Linked DNA regions of Homo sapiens: region 2 is linked to region 1. The links are contacts of gene promoters, found by promoter capture Hi-C in human tissues and cell types (Jung and others, 2019). All regions are on one chromosome and are shown on one strand. Each heading gives the region's core, a stretch centred on a gene start or on the middle of the fragment in contact. The rest is flanking DNA. Distances are from core to core; before and after follow the strand shown. Region 1 holds the start of TSPAN9 (tetraspanin 9). Region 2 overlaps PARP11 (poly(ADP-ribose) polymerase family member 11).

The links. The method cuts DNA at HindIII sites, captures the fragments that hold promoters and counts their contacts. A contact is called where the count stands out against the background at its distance.
Region 2: a contact is called between a fragment that was not itself captured here and the fragment with the promoter of TSPAN9 in region 1, in 1 of the 25 tissues and cell types used here (dorsolateral prefrontal cortex).

The regions. Positions count from the first base shown.
Region 1 is chr12:3,073,336-3,080,326 of GRCh38, reverse strand. It overlaps TSPAN9 (tetraspanin 9), which reads right to left and starts at 2,948. Exons shown (of 9, transcript NM_006675.5): 1 at 2,874-2,948. RefSeq lists silencers at 2,843-3,342, 3,393-3,442, 6,659-6,808 and an enhancer at 6,590-6,884. The HindIII fragment of the contact is 4,780 bases long and covers 769-5,548 here.
Region 2 is chr12:3,801,896-3,808,886 of GRCh38, reverse strand. It overlaps PARP11 (poly(ADP-ribose) polymerase family member 11), which reads left to right. Exons shown (of 8, transcript NM_020367.6): 8 at 1-26. Among named protein-coding and RNA genes, the nearest start is that of CRACR2A, 52 kb to the right of the region's middle. The HindIII fragment of the contact is 5,252 bases long and covers 707-5,958 here.

The DNA.
Region 1 (6,991 bases), core at 1,699-4,198:
TTACATTCAGTGTTTTTTTAACCACAATTTTAGAATTTTTTATATAAAGCACACTTCCTAATTGATTGAGTGGCTGCCAATATCTTACACTGTTAATTATCTGATGCTGGAAGAGACTCTAGAATATTTCTAATCCAATATACCACCAAAACAGAGAGTTGGAAAGAGGAGGTAAATTGCCCAAGGTTGCACAAATAGGTGGTGCCAGGTGAAGACAAGGCTCAACATAGAGGAAAGGGGCTGGGCGTGGTGGCTCACGCCTGTAATCCCAACACTTTGGGAGGCCAAGGTAGGAGAATTGCTTGAGGCCAGGAGTTCAAGACCAGAGACCAGCCTGGGCAACATAGCACAACCCTGTCTCTACCAAAAAAAAAAAAAAAATTTTTTTAATTATCTGAGCATGGGGCCTGTACCTATAGTCCCAGCTACTCGGGAGGCTAAGGTGGGAGGATCACTTGAGCCCAGGAGTTGGAGGCTGCAGTGAGCTGCTTGTGTCCCTGTGCTCCAGCCCAGGCAACAAAGCAAGACCCTGTCTCTAAAAAAAAAAAAAAAAAATAGAAGAAGGGGCTAAGTACGGTGGTTCATGCCTGTAATCCCAGCACTTTGGGAGGCCAAGGCAGGCGGATCACCTGAGGTCAGGAGTTTGAGACCAGTCTGGCCAACATGGCGAAACTCCATCTCTACTAAAAATACAAAAATTAGCCAGGTGTGGTGGCGGGCACCTGTAATCCCAGTTACTTGGGAGGTTGAGGCAGGAGAATCACTTGAACCCAGTAGGCAGAGGTTGCAGTGAGCCGAGATAGTGCCATCGCACTCCAGCCTGGGCAACAAAAGCAAAAGTCTGTCTCAGAAAAAAATAAATAAATAAAATAGAAGAAGGGCAGAGAGGCAGATGGCAGAATAGATGGCACAAGGCAGGAAGGTCAGAAGCCAGGGTTCAAGTTTTGCTTCTTTCACTTAATGAGTGTTGTGACCTTAGATAAGATACTTATTCTCTCTGAGTATCATTTTCTTAACCTATAAGAAGGCAATTAAAAGTAACAAACTTCAGCCAATGCGGTGGCTCACGCCTATAATCCCAGCACTGTGGGAGGCCAAGGCAGGTGGATCACTTGAGGTCAGGAGTTCAAGACCAGCCTGGTCAACATGGCAAAACCTCATCTCTACTAAAAATACAAAAATTAGAAGGCGTGGCGGCACGCGCCTGTAATCCCAGCTACTCGGGAGGCTGAGGCAGGAGAATGGCTTGAACCTGGGACGCGGGGGTTGCAGTGAGCTGAGATCCTGCCACTGCACTCCAGCCTGGGCAACAGAGTGAGACTCTGTCTCAAAAAAAAAAAAAAAAGTAACAAATTTCACAAGATTACGTATGAATTAAATAAAATTATATACAGCTAATGTAACGTGCATAGAAAAAACTTGGCCAACTATAAATTACTTTATCAACACTAGTTATTGTTATTAATATTAAATATCTGTTCATAGGTTTAAAAAGCTCTGCCAGAATATTAAAATCTGATTAAACCAGACCAAAAAAAAAAAAATCCTACTCTCACCTGTTCAGGGACTTGCACACAGGGCGTCTTCAGTGAGTGAGAGTAGAACTGAATTACACTTCAAGTTTTATCTACCCCAATCCTCTCCCTCCAACCCACAGCCCAGCTGCATCAGCCATGCCAGGACCAAGCCGAGGGTAGGAAGCCGGTGTAATTGTCTGCCTCTCTGGCTGCATTCCTTAGCTAAATATAAATGATTTGTCCAGGCTATTGTTTGAAATTATCCATAATCCCTCTCCTCCCCTCCCCATTACTTATGATGGCAAGCTGGCTGCGTATCTCTATAGCAAAGCATATATTCAACATTCTCTGTGGCTATTTTCAGTAAAGAGAAGGGAGCTGGCAGGTATATATAGGGATCCTCGCATGAGTCTTCAGTTTTCTCCACTAGTCCAGGAAAGCTTCCTGGAGGAGGAAATACCTGAGTCACCCCAGGGAAAAGGACAGCTGCAGGTCAGAAGGGCACGCGCACATAATGAGAGACTGGGTCTCTGAACTAAGAGTTACCAGGTAAGGCAGGTAAGCCCCTGCCTTCTTACCCCCCGTTTTGGTGATGCGAGAAAAAGGTAGCTCAGGGGATCCCATACTAGCCCAAGCTTCCCCAGACAAAACAGGCATTTGGGGGAAGATGAAGCAGTGACTCGTATATTTTTCAAAGAGGGAGGAGATCCAAGACTCCAGTTCCAAGATGTACAAGTACAAATATTGCTCTTACAACAACAAGCCGGTTTCTTGTTTGGATCTTTTTTTAAAAACCACAAGAAAGTTTTTTGAAGTCCCAAACTTGAATGCACAGATGGGCTAGATCTCCAACTTCGGGATGTGCCAGAGTCCTGTCACTCGGAGTGCTGATCTTCCAGCAGTGGCCCAGGGAGCGGTCGCGGGTGCCGGGGGGCTGCAGGCCATATCCCAGCCCTGCCCGAAGGCCCCCTGGCCCTCTCTGGGGTCCTTGTATGGACTGTCCCAAGCGGTGCACGGGGTCACACAGTCGGAAACCCTTGCCGGCCCCGGGTTACTCCCTTTCTGAAACGGTCTTCCTCGGAGCCATCCCCTGGAGGACCCCACTTCGCTCGGTGCCCGGGCCCCGCACCCACCCTCCCCTTCCCGGCCCGCTTCCCGCACGGCGCCTACTCTGTTCCTCGTCCTCTCGTCCCACCGCCGCCCTGCCCACACTGCCTCCCGTGGGCGCCCCCGGCCGCTCCCCCTTCTCGGGTCTCGGCCTGGGGGTGCCCAGCCCGCCCGGCGCCGGCTCAAGGCCGCGCGACTCCGCACGCTCTCGAGACCCGCCTCGCCGCCCGCCGCCCGGGCCGCACTCACCGCGCCCGCAGGACCTGGGGGTCTCCGCTCTGCTCGCGCTCCGGCACCGCCGCCGCCGCCGCCGCCAGCGGAAACAGGGGGCGGGGCCTGCCCGGGAATGGCGAGCCTGCGGGGCGGGGCGGCCCGGGGGCGGAGCGGGGAGGGGCGGGGCGGAGCGGGGAGGGGCGGGGCGGAGAAGGATCGCAGGGCTGAGCGGGGCGCCAGCGCCAGTGCCCGGCACTGCCCCGGGCTGGGTCCCCTGCGTTAGAGGAAGGGGAGCCCGGGGACGGGGCACGGGGCCCGCGAGGCACGGGTGCTCTCTCGGGGTTCCGGAAGCCTCCCTCCCCGCCCCGCCGCCCGCATGCCCGGACCGGCCGCTCCTCCGAGGTGCTATGATCCCGCCTTCCCCCTGCGGCGAACGGGCCTCTTCCCGGGGTAGGGGCGGGGAGGTCCGGGCCTGGCAGTGCGCTCTCCTGGGCTCTGCGCCCACACGGCACCCAAGGGCCTTCCTGGCCCAGGCCTCGGCTCTCTCCCTCGCGCCAGGCTGCCTGGCCTCGCCACCCCACCCCCACACCTACGAACCCCTTCCCTGGTGTTTCGGGCGGACTGTGCGAGATGCTGACAGCGCGGGTGTGTGTTGGAGCCTGCCTGAGACACCTCCCGCAGAAAGGGCCATGCCTCCCCAGGAGCTGGCGGCCTCCAAGGGCGACTACAGGGCACCGTGTGCCTGAGGGGTGCGCTAAGGCAGGAGAAACTCCAGCTAGGCATGTCTGGCCCGGGCGCTTTTTCAGGCCTGGATTTTATGTGTTTTTTGCTTTTTGTTTTGTTTTGTTTTTTCTTGAGACAAGGACTCACTCTGTTGCCCAGGCAGGAGTGCAGTGGTGCGATCACGGCTCACTGCAGCCTCGACTTCCCGGGCTCAAGTGATCCCGCCTCAGCCTCCAGAGTAGTTGGGACTGTAGGCGCGCACCACCACGTCCGGCGAAGTTTTTGATTTTTTTTGTACAGACGGTGGTCTCCCTGGGCCCAAGCTGGTCTCAAACTCCCGGGCTCAAGCCATCCTCCTGCCTCTGCCTCCCAAAGTGCTGGGATTATAGGCCCGGATTCTTAAAGCTAGAAGGCCTAAACTTGTTTCCAAAGAGCACTAAAACGCCATCTCTTCTCATCATTACTGTCATCAAAAATGTCTTCTAGGCCAGGTGTGGTGGCTCACGCGTGTAATCCCAGGACTTTGGGGGGCCCAGGTGGAAGGATTGCTTGAGCTCAGGAACTCAGGAATTCAAGAACAGCCTGGGCAACATAGGGAAACCCCATCTCAAAAAAAAAATGTTTTAATTAACCGGGTGTGGTGGCACACCCCTGTAGTCCCAGCTGCTCCGGAGGCTGAGGCTCAGGCGTTGGAGGCTGCAGTAAACTAGGATCATGCCACTGTACTCCAGCCTGGGCAGTAGAGGGAGACCCTGTCTTTAAAAGTGAAATTTTTTTAAATTTTAAAGAAACTGTATGCTGTGCTTCCCACGTGCCCTACCATTGCACTAAGCTTGACTGGGGACAAGTTTTTAAAACCTGGCTATAATCACTAGGGTCACTTTTGCTTTCTGCTAATTAGACTGGAAGTTTCCACTCATCTTCTGGGCCCCTTTCCGTCACACACATGCAACCTTGTTTTTGTCTATTAGACTAAACCCATAACCCATTTCCTTCTGATCTCCCTTTCCCCACAAGGAAAATATTCTCCTTCTACATTTTGCTTCATCCAAAGCCCTGTTCAATGCCCCTATAACAAAGTCTTCCCAAGGAACCCCCACCAGCCCCAATCTCTCCAGTCACTGCGGCAGAGTTGGGTACATGTACCCAGAAAAGGAAACTGGGTCTCAGACAGGGAAAGAGATATACTAGGATTGTCTGCCAGCAAGCCAACTCACTGGCAGACCATTGGACGCAGCCTGGTGAGGGAGTAGCCGCAGGGCTTGGGAGCCAGACACACCTGTCTGAATCCTGGCTCTGCTTTTATCGGCTGGGACCTCTTCAGGCCTGTTTTCTCACCTGTGGAATGGGGCATAAGAATACCAATTATGGGGATGGGCATGGTGGCTCACACCTGTAATCCCAGTACTTAGGGAGGCCGAGGCGGGTGGATTACCTGAGATCAGGAGTTTGAGACCAGCCTGGCCAACATGGTGAAACCCCGTCTCCACTAAAAATACAAAAATTAGCCGGGTGTGGTGGCACATGCCTGTAATCCCAGCTACTCGGAGGGCTGAGGCAGGAGAATTGCTTGAGCCTGGGAGACGGAGGTTGCAGTGAGCCAAGATCGTGCCACTGCACTCCAGCCTGGTCGACAGAGCGAGACTGTCTCAAAAAAAAAAAAAAAAAAAAACCAATTCCACAGGGTTGATGGGCTGACCAAGATGATGGAGTAAAAGCACAACATGTGATGTGTGGTGACTGCTCTACAAATGCTAGCTTCCTCCTGCCCTTTTTGGTTTTTGTTTTGTTTTGTTGTTTTTGAGACAGGGACTTGTTCTGCCACCCAGGCTGGAGGGCAGTGGTGCCATCATGGCTCACTGCAGCCTCCAACTCCTGGACTCAAGGATCCTCCAACCTCAGACTCCTAAGTAGCTGGGACCACACGTGCATGCCACCATACCCAGCTAATTGGGGTTTTTGTTTGTTTTGTTTTTGTTTTTGTTTTCGTTTTCGTTTTGTTTTGTAGAGACAGAGGCCTCACTATGTTGCTCAAGCTAGTTTTGAACTCCTGGCCTCAAGCAATCCTCCCACCTTGGCCTCCCAAAGTCCTCCTGCCCTTTAAAAAAAGATAGGCGGAGCACAGTGGCTCACACCTGTCATCCCAGCACTTTGGGAGGCCAAGGCAGGTGGATCACTCAAGCCCAGGAGTTCGAGACCAGCCTGGCCAACATGGCAAAACCCCATCTCTACTAAAAATACAAAAATTAGCCAGGTGTGCATGGGCGTGGTGGCACATGCCTGTACGGGAGGCTGAGGTGAGAGGATTGCTTGAGCCCAGGAGGTCAAGGCTGCAGTGAACCATGATTATACCACTGCTCTCCAGCCTGGGTGACAGAGTGAGACTCTGTCTCAAATTAATTAATTAATTAGAGCAAATCTGAAATAATGGAATTCTGAAGTCTTAGAGATAGATGAAATCTTAGAAGAAATCCCTCAGCAATAGCCCAGAAAATGGCTTCACTGCTCACTCTCCTTCACCACATTCAGAGGTGAATGCCTCAGTGCCTCTGAGGGGCTGACAGTTGGAAGGAAGCTCTGAAGAAAAGCTGTAGAGGAGATGGGATTATTCAGCATAAAGGACACAAAGGTGACTAGTGGTCTGTGAAGCAGACACACTGATAGTGTCCACTGAGGACTAAACGCAAGTAAACCTGACAATGACGCACCACCCTCTTGGGGAAGGGACTTACAAACGCATGAAGTCACTGCTTATCATACCAGGCTTCTGAGGAAATGTCATTGCATTTCCCTTCTGGAGGAGATTCTGAAAAATGCTGAGGTTAGATATAGGTAGGGTGACTGTATCCAGGTTTCGGGGGCACATCCTACTTACTCCTCTTGTCCTGGCATAGTTCCTAAGTCCCCTTTCACTCTCGAAATATCCTGGCGTGGATGATAAATTATATGCCATTTTAACTGTGAACAAAGGCAGGACTCCAAACAGCTCCTTCCAGGCCTGGATGTCAGCAACTCTGCTGGAATTTCTGGATCCCCAGGGACTTCAAAGGATAGCATGTCAGTTTATCCCCTTGAAATCACCAAATCAAATCAAAAATGACAATAGGCTAAAATTAAAGTCCCAGCCAACCACCCCAAGTCAAGCTTCAGGACTGTGCCTGCTGAATTGCGACACCTAGTGGCGAAAGTGCACGCTGCCGGAGCGGGGTTCCGCCAACACTTCACATTCGGCCATAGGTTTCAAGTGACTTGCAAAGCAGCTAACAGCTAACATGTACTGTTTATGTGCCAGGCACAGTTCTAAGTACTTTACATGTTCTAACCCACTGATCCTCACAACAACACCATGAGGTAGGTAGTAGCATCACCATCCCGACATTTTTACAGATGAGGAAACTGAGGCTGAGACAGGTTAAGTAATTTCTCCAAGG
Region 2 (6,991 bases), core at 2,083-4,582, 730 kb before region 1:
ATGATTAAAGCTCTCCATTAGCAGTTCTTGGTTGTCTGTGTATATCATATATTTGTTTCTGTGACTTATGTATCTCATCTCCACCTTGTATTATTTAAACCTAAGTTTTCAGCTCAATCTTAGTGGACCCAAGGAGTTTGTTGCCTGTAACTCATATGTACCCCACTTGCGGATGGGGGAAGTCTCTTGTTCTTAGTTTGAATCATCATGAGCAATAGCTAATCAAATAACCTATGGGAAAAATCATTTACTGTGTGCTATTATAAAAAAAAATCCCCAAACAGGCCAAGAGTTGGCATCTGCAGCATTTTTTATTCTTGGTGTGCTCCCCTGGCTCAGCGGAACAGCTCTGTAGGGTGTGTCTGCCTTCATCCAAGGAGTATCCTTCCTACAGCCCATCTAACCTCCAGCCACTCGCACTGTGTCTACCATCATTCCTGTTGAACTGAGTTAAACATTCCGTTCAACCTTTGGCAAGAAAGGATGGTATCAAAGGCTCTCCTCAGGTTAGAACTGAGAGAAATGAGGGGCAGAATGATTGACTCATTGTGATAAAAATTCAATTGAGCTTTGATTGTTGATCTAGAAGAGCCACATCCTTCCAAATTCTGTTCCCTAGCCATTCGAGTGTTTGTGATTACCTCCCAAATTGCTAGGAATAACACGAGAAACAATCTTATGGTGATCCTAGTTGTGTCGCCTCCAGATTTTCCACTCTCCTTAAGGATTATTTGTTTATTTTAAAATATTTTCTTTTGCTTAAAACAACGAGACAGTCAATTTCTAGATGAAATTATACACTCTGTACTTGTAAAAGAGATAAAAGGTAATGAAAAATAGCACGGAAAGGAAAAAAAAGACCCTTGTCAAAAATTAGTGTTGATTAGAAACTTTAACAAAGTGATTTTAGTTATTTTTATCCCTTTGCACTCTATGCAGGAAGAGTTTTGGTGATACGAGATAGTCTGCCACACTTTCTTATGAATCATTTCATAATGTTACTTGGGGCAACACAGATGGAAGAAATGAACATTTCAAAGAACTATGAAATACATAATTATTTGCGGGCTGCCTGATTAGTGTGAGTAATATATGCCGGGAGAGGTGAGCCCTGAATATCCAGGAGAGAAGTTGAAAGTTCATGTTTTAACCTTGACTTTTTAGCAGTGGTAGTTTACTTCTCATGTCTTCAGAAACTCTAGGATGGAAGGTGGTTTGGGGACTTACATCTCTCTCTTTCCTCCTGTCTCCTTCCTATATTGAGCTCTACTTGATCCATCTCAGGTAAAAGGATGTCTCAGTTATTTCTAAACCCAAACAGTAAATTCCTTGTAACTGATCTGAGTCTCCTGCTGTAAGATTTTGTAACCCATTTTCTCAGCTTTAATTGCTTGGCTTCCATTTGTCAGCACTACAGGCCAAGCACCTGGCTATTTGAATTCTCTCACCGTGTGGCTGCGTATCTAAGAATTTAGACACTGTCTTACTTATTTTTAAGTGGCTTTTCATAAGATTGGAGCATAGGTTTTATGCCAAAGACATTTGTGTTTTCTGCAGCTTCTTAGCATTGCTGGACCCTCTACCAAGAGGTTATACGGTAAGCTGATTCTGATTCTGTGGCTTATGCTGACTTCATGATTGTAAACCAACTTAAGGAGAGTCACCATCCAGAATTTAATGAAATCATCTTTGCAATATTGATTATACATCCAGACTGCACTTGTGTTTTCCTTTTTAAAAATACCTTTTCCTGAAGGGCTCATTATGCTTTAATGTCTCCTAGATAACATGTGGAAGCTGTAGGCATTATAAGCCCACGTTTGATGAACAGTCTCAGAGAATCAGCGTGCAAGCTCATTTCCTCCACTTTATTCCTATAAGAAGAAGATCAAGCCTCAACTTGGGAGCCAGCTGATCTGAATTTTATTCCTGGCTTTGCTGTCTGATTCAGTGTGACCTTGGATAACTCACCAGAGAGGGAAGGTTCACTTTTCAGAAGGTGAAGTTTATGATAGACCAATCAGACTCTCGTTGAGAGAAAAAGACCTGACGGAGCACAGCTAGATTTTCCTAGGCAACATCTGACCTGACTGAAGATGATTTTTGAGTTTGGGTCGGGAAAATACAATAGCAGGGATCATGATGCATTGAGAAGAAGCAAGGGCTTGCAGTAGGAAGGAAAAAGAATGGACCTGGTTGTCCATGAAACTCTGCCACTAATTAGTTTCCCCACTCCCTTTCTAGTTCACAGCTCTGAATTCTTGTGGCGTGCCAGGGACTGAACAAGTCAGACATGGCCTCTGCTCTCATGGAACTTAAAGTCTAGCAGGGAAGACATAATGAACTGTAATGACAAGAGTGATGAACTTTCCTGAAGGGGAAGTTCAGGCCACTGTGAGGCTCTGACAGAGGGATTTCACCTGTCCTCAGGAATTAGGGAAGGCTTTCCTGGGGAGTGACATTTGAATGTGAAGATAGAAAGATAAGTAGATGTTAATTAAGGGAAGGAGGATTTTATGTCCCCCAGCCACACCCATCTGTGCCATATCAGGCTTTGGAGAGATGAGAAAAACCAGATAGGGGTAGAAGCAAAGTTGGAACATTGTTTTTATCATTAAAACAAAGATGACAGAATCAAAACCATTCAAATTGTGTTGCCCCAAACCCCTGCGCCTGGTCCTGGGGTCAGCCTTAAGGGAACCAGGACCCAGCAGTAAGGGGTATGTGGAGAAGGGATTGTGAAGATTTTATACAGTTTAAGGGAATCAAGAAGCTTGTTGGGTAAAGGAGTTCCTTCTTGGCCCCCATGCCTTTGCTTATGCCTTTTTGCCTCTCCCTAGAACACACAGTCATATTCCTCCCTCTTGAAAACTCTATTTGAAGCATGGGCTCTGGAGTCAGACGTCCACGTTGATTCCTGGCGCCACCCTTTACCACCTGTTTCACTTGAGCAGGTTGCTTAAGCTCTCTGTGCTGCTGTTTCCTCATCTATAAAGTGGTGATAATAATAGTGTCTACCCTAGAGGGTTGTTGTGAGAACTGGATGAAGTAATACTTGTGAAGTGTTTGGGATGATGCCCGGCACGAAGCCTCAGTAAATGCTGGTGGGTATTAATACGTAAGGCCCCTCGTCTTTCAAGAAGTCTTCTATACCTAATACAACCCTCACAAGCTAGGATTCATACAGTATTTATAGTGTACTTGGAAGTAGGGACATAACTTTTTTTTTTCTTAGCATTTACTTGGTCAGTGCCCTTTGGCCAAAGACCACCAGGAGCAACCCTGTAAGTTAAACAAATTAGGTTTATTACTCATGGCAGCCAGAGAGCACACACACCCTGAGGAACTATGGGGTGTCCCGGTAGGAGGGTGCAAGAAAAGCTTTTGTAGGGTTTGGGCTTTGGGGATATGGGGAAGGGTCTGAGGAGTTAGGATTTCACTCTAATTGGATGCCGTCAGAAAGCAGGGGCAATTCTATGATTTGGCATGTTCATAAATCTTATCTATAGAGAGGGAAGTCTAGCTGAGGATAAGCTGTAATTAGCAAAGCAGAAGCAGTTGCTCATCTGGCTGAGAGAAGTGGTTGGTATTCTGTGGGTGGCACAGTGACCTTATTTTTGTCTGTTCTTAGACACAATTATGAAATGACCTTGTTTTGTCTCATTTTATTGTGGTCTCAGAATAACCTTGTCAGAGGTTGGTTTTCTGTGAGATAGTTTAGGTTCATCAGAATAACATGCCTTAGCTGTGAGTACCAGGCCAGTTTCTAAATGTCAGAGGCTGTTCTTTTTGTTCTCAACTTGTCTAACTTTTGTTTGGGCTACTTTTCTTCCTCCTGGGAAATTGTAAGAGAATGTATTTACTCATTCAACAAACCAGCAAGTGGGTACCTGTACTCCATACCAGGCACGATCCTAAACACAGGACACAGTAGTGAAATCTCTGCCTTCAAGGTTCTCCAAGTCTTGGATAAGAAGTCTTGGATAAAATTGTGTTTCAGTTAACCGTTTTGCTAGTTTAAATGCCTTCTTCAGCTTTCCCACAAGTATTCCAGCTTGTACTGGATACTTTCAATGATTAGGAAATACTACATGCTGTAGACAATTCTGAATGCTAGAAAATTGGTTCTTACCTTGATCTATAATTTCTTTTTCTTTTCTTTTCTTTCTTTTTTTTTTTTTTTTTTTGTGAAACGGAGTCTCGCTCTGTCACCCAGGCTGGAGTGCAGTGGTGCGATCTCGGCTCACTGCAACCTTCGCCTCCTGGGTTCACGCCATTCTCCTGCCTCAGCCTCCTGAGTAGCTGGGACTACAGGCGCCTGTCACCACCTGGCTAATTTTTTTGTATTTTTAGTAGAGACGGGGTTTCACCGTGTTAGCCAGGATGGTCTCTATCTCCTGACCTCATGGTCCGCCCACCTTGGCCTCCCAAAGTGCTGGGATTACAGGCTTGAGCCACCGCGCCCGGCCTTGATCTATAATTTCTTTCCTCGTATATTCCACTGCTTGGGTCTATATCTATACATTAAAGACACTCAGAACGAGTTCCCTGCATGTTCTCTAGCTGTTTACGTAGTTGACCCACGGGCAATGTAGGTGAACTCTGGATTTTCATGATTCCTTGCTGTGCTGACTGCTCTTACATTCTTCTCAAAAGAATATTTTAGTTTAACAAATAATTTAATGTTGATTCCATTTTCCACATGGATTTAGTGTTTAGGCCTGTTTTGTCCGACTGAAGGACAGACTACATTATCAGGGCTTTTCTAATGAAAGTGTATGTAGGCAGTTAGGTGCTACTGCGTGTGAGAACAGCAGACGCTAGGTGGCAGCATCTTGCTTCGGAACTGGCACAACAAACTGGGCGCTGAGTTCATAGCTGCATTTTAGAGAGCAGGGTCAAAGGACCTTCCAGAAGTTATCTAGTCCCTGCCACCAGGTGGGACAACCCCTGGTCAAATCCACCGACATAGGTATTTATCCCGTTTATAGTAACTGCTAGGAAAAGGACACATCTTCCCAATAGGAACCTAGTCTATTATTTTAGAATTTTGCCTGGTGAAAATTCTTCCTAAATAACCGTGCCACATACTGTCATCTAATCTGTTTTCCTTCTTTCTTCAGGTGAAGTCGCATTAATTTAAGTTAATTTAGAAAAAGATCGTTGGCCATTTTCTGAGGCCGTGCGCAGAAAGACTGTTACCAGTGAGTTCCCTGTCAACCTTACTCCTTCAGCTCACCCATCCACCCATCCCTCACCTTGCCAGAAAGATTCTGAATCCCCTAACGTGCTTCTGGCTGTACTCCCCAGCTTCTTATTTACCTCTGGCACTACCTCCTGGCTGTGTTCTCCATCATGCTTGAGTTATGGAGCCCCCAAGTTTTGTCTTCCTTGGGGGTTCGGGTTAAGAACTCGGGTTCTTAACATTGTAAAGTTAACACCTCAGAACACAATATGCCCTCTGAGATATGATATTCTATGCTCTTTTTAAAAAAATGTGTGTCAGAAAAGATGGGCCATAAACTTAGCTTCAAATTGAAACAGGGGGCGTATCAACTCCAGATGTTTCTGAAGTCCTTCTCTCAAAGTCTTAGGACTTGAAATGGTATACCACAAATATTTTAAAGGTATAATTTTTATACTCTTCCTACAAAATTGAGGTGAGGCCAATTTGTGACTGTGGAAGACAGGAAGAACTGAATGCCTGCGATCACGTTTCCATGTCAGAACCAGGCAGAGACCCCAGGCAGTGTGATTCCCAGTCTAGTGATCTATCTTCCAGTGTAATCGTGTTGTGCTGCCGCCATATATGCAAGATCTTGGCACTGATATTGTTCATTTAAAGAATTTTTGTAGCAGGAGAGTAGTATTGTGAAAGGTGTGTGTCAGGATTTTGTGTTTGAAAAGCAATGTGTTCTAATAAAACACAGGTTTTAGAGTCAGGTGATCCTGGCAACAGACCCAGATTTGCTGCTTTCTAGCCGTGTAGCCTTGCAGAAGTTGACCGGCTTCTCAGAACTGCTCTTTCCTCACAGTTTAATGCTGTTGTGAGAATTACCTGAGGCTGTGTGAGTATATGGAGCACTTAGCACAGTGTCTGACATATGCTAGTTGCTCAAGACTTAGATACAATAATCACTGCTGGCTGCCGTGTTCCAGGAGAAGGGCCTCTGTGGGGCCATGAGTAAACCCCTGCTAGTCTGGGAGAAGTCACACTGCAGTGGCATGGTGTCAGATCTCACCCTATCCTTCGCCTCTCAAGAAACATAAGTAAGGAACTTGGCATGCAGGGGAGAAAAAACAAGCCACAGAAAGGCCAGGCAACATAAATGAGAACAAATCTGTGATTTTGAGTTATTAATGTCCATTTCCCTTGGCTTCCAGGCATATCTGTTTCTCATCCATTCCAGAAAACCGTTAGTGGGCCAGGGGGCCAGACAGGTTTATGGATAAGGATAGTATGATTTTGTATATCTCTTATACTTTTCATTGCCAACTTCAACAGAAGCAGCAATAGTCACCTGATACTTTTATAATATCTAGATGGTCATAGATTTAGTGTATATTTTCAAACTCAAGGAAAATAAAATATATCACCATTTTGGACTAATGACAGGGAAAATGGTTCAGAAGTTGATGACAATACTGGTGGCGGGTGCTGCAATAAAATTGGATAAATTTGAAATACTTTGGATAGAAATAATGAAAACAAAGGAAACATTCATTATCCATTAATTCACTCTCATTTCTGGAAGGAAGGAAGAAAGAGGAAGAAAGTCTTAGTTTTGTTATTATGTGGTTGCAGGTGTTAAAACTACCAAACAAATCTTAAAATTAGAAGTTTCAAATTGTTGCTTTGGTCATTAAATATTTATTTACTATCCACTATGTGCCAGCAGTTATATGCCAGGCCCTGTGCTGGATTAACATCCAAGATGAACAAGGTGTGGTCCTTACCTTCCAGAAGCTCTTGGCCTACTGAGGAGATAGT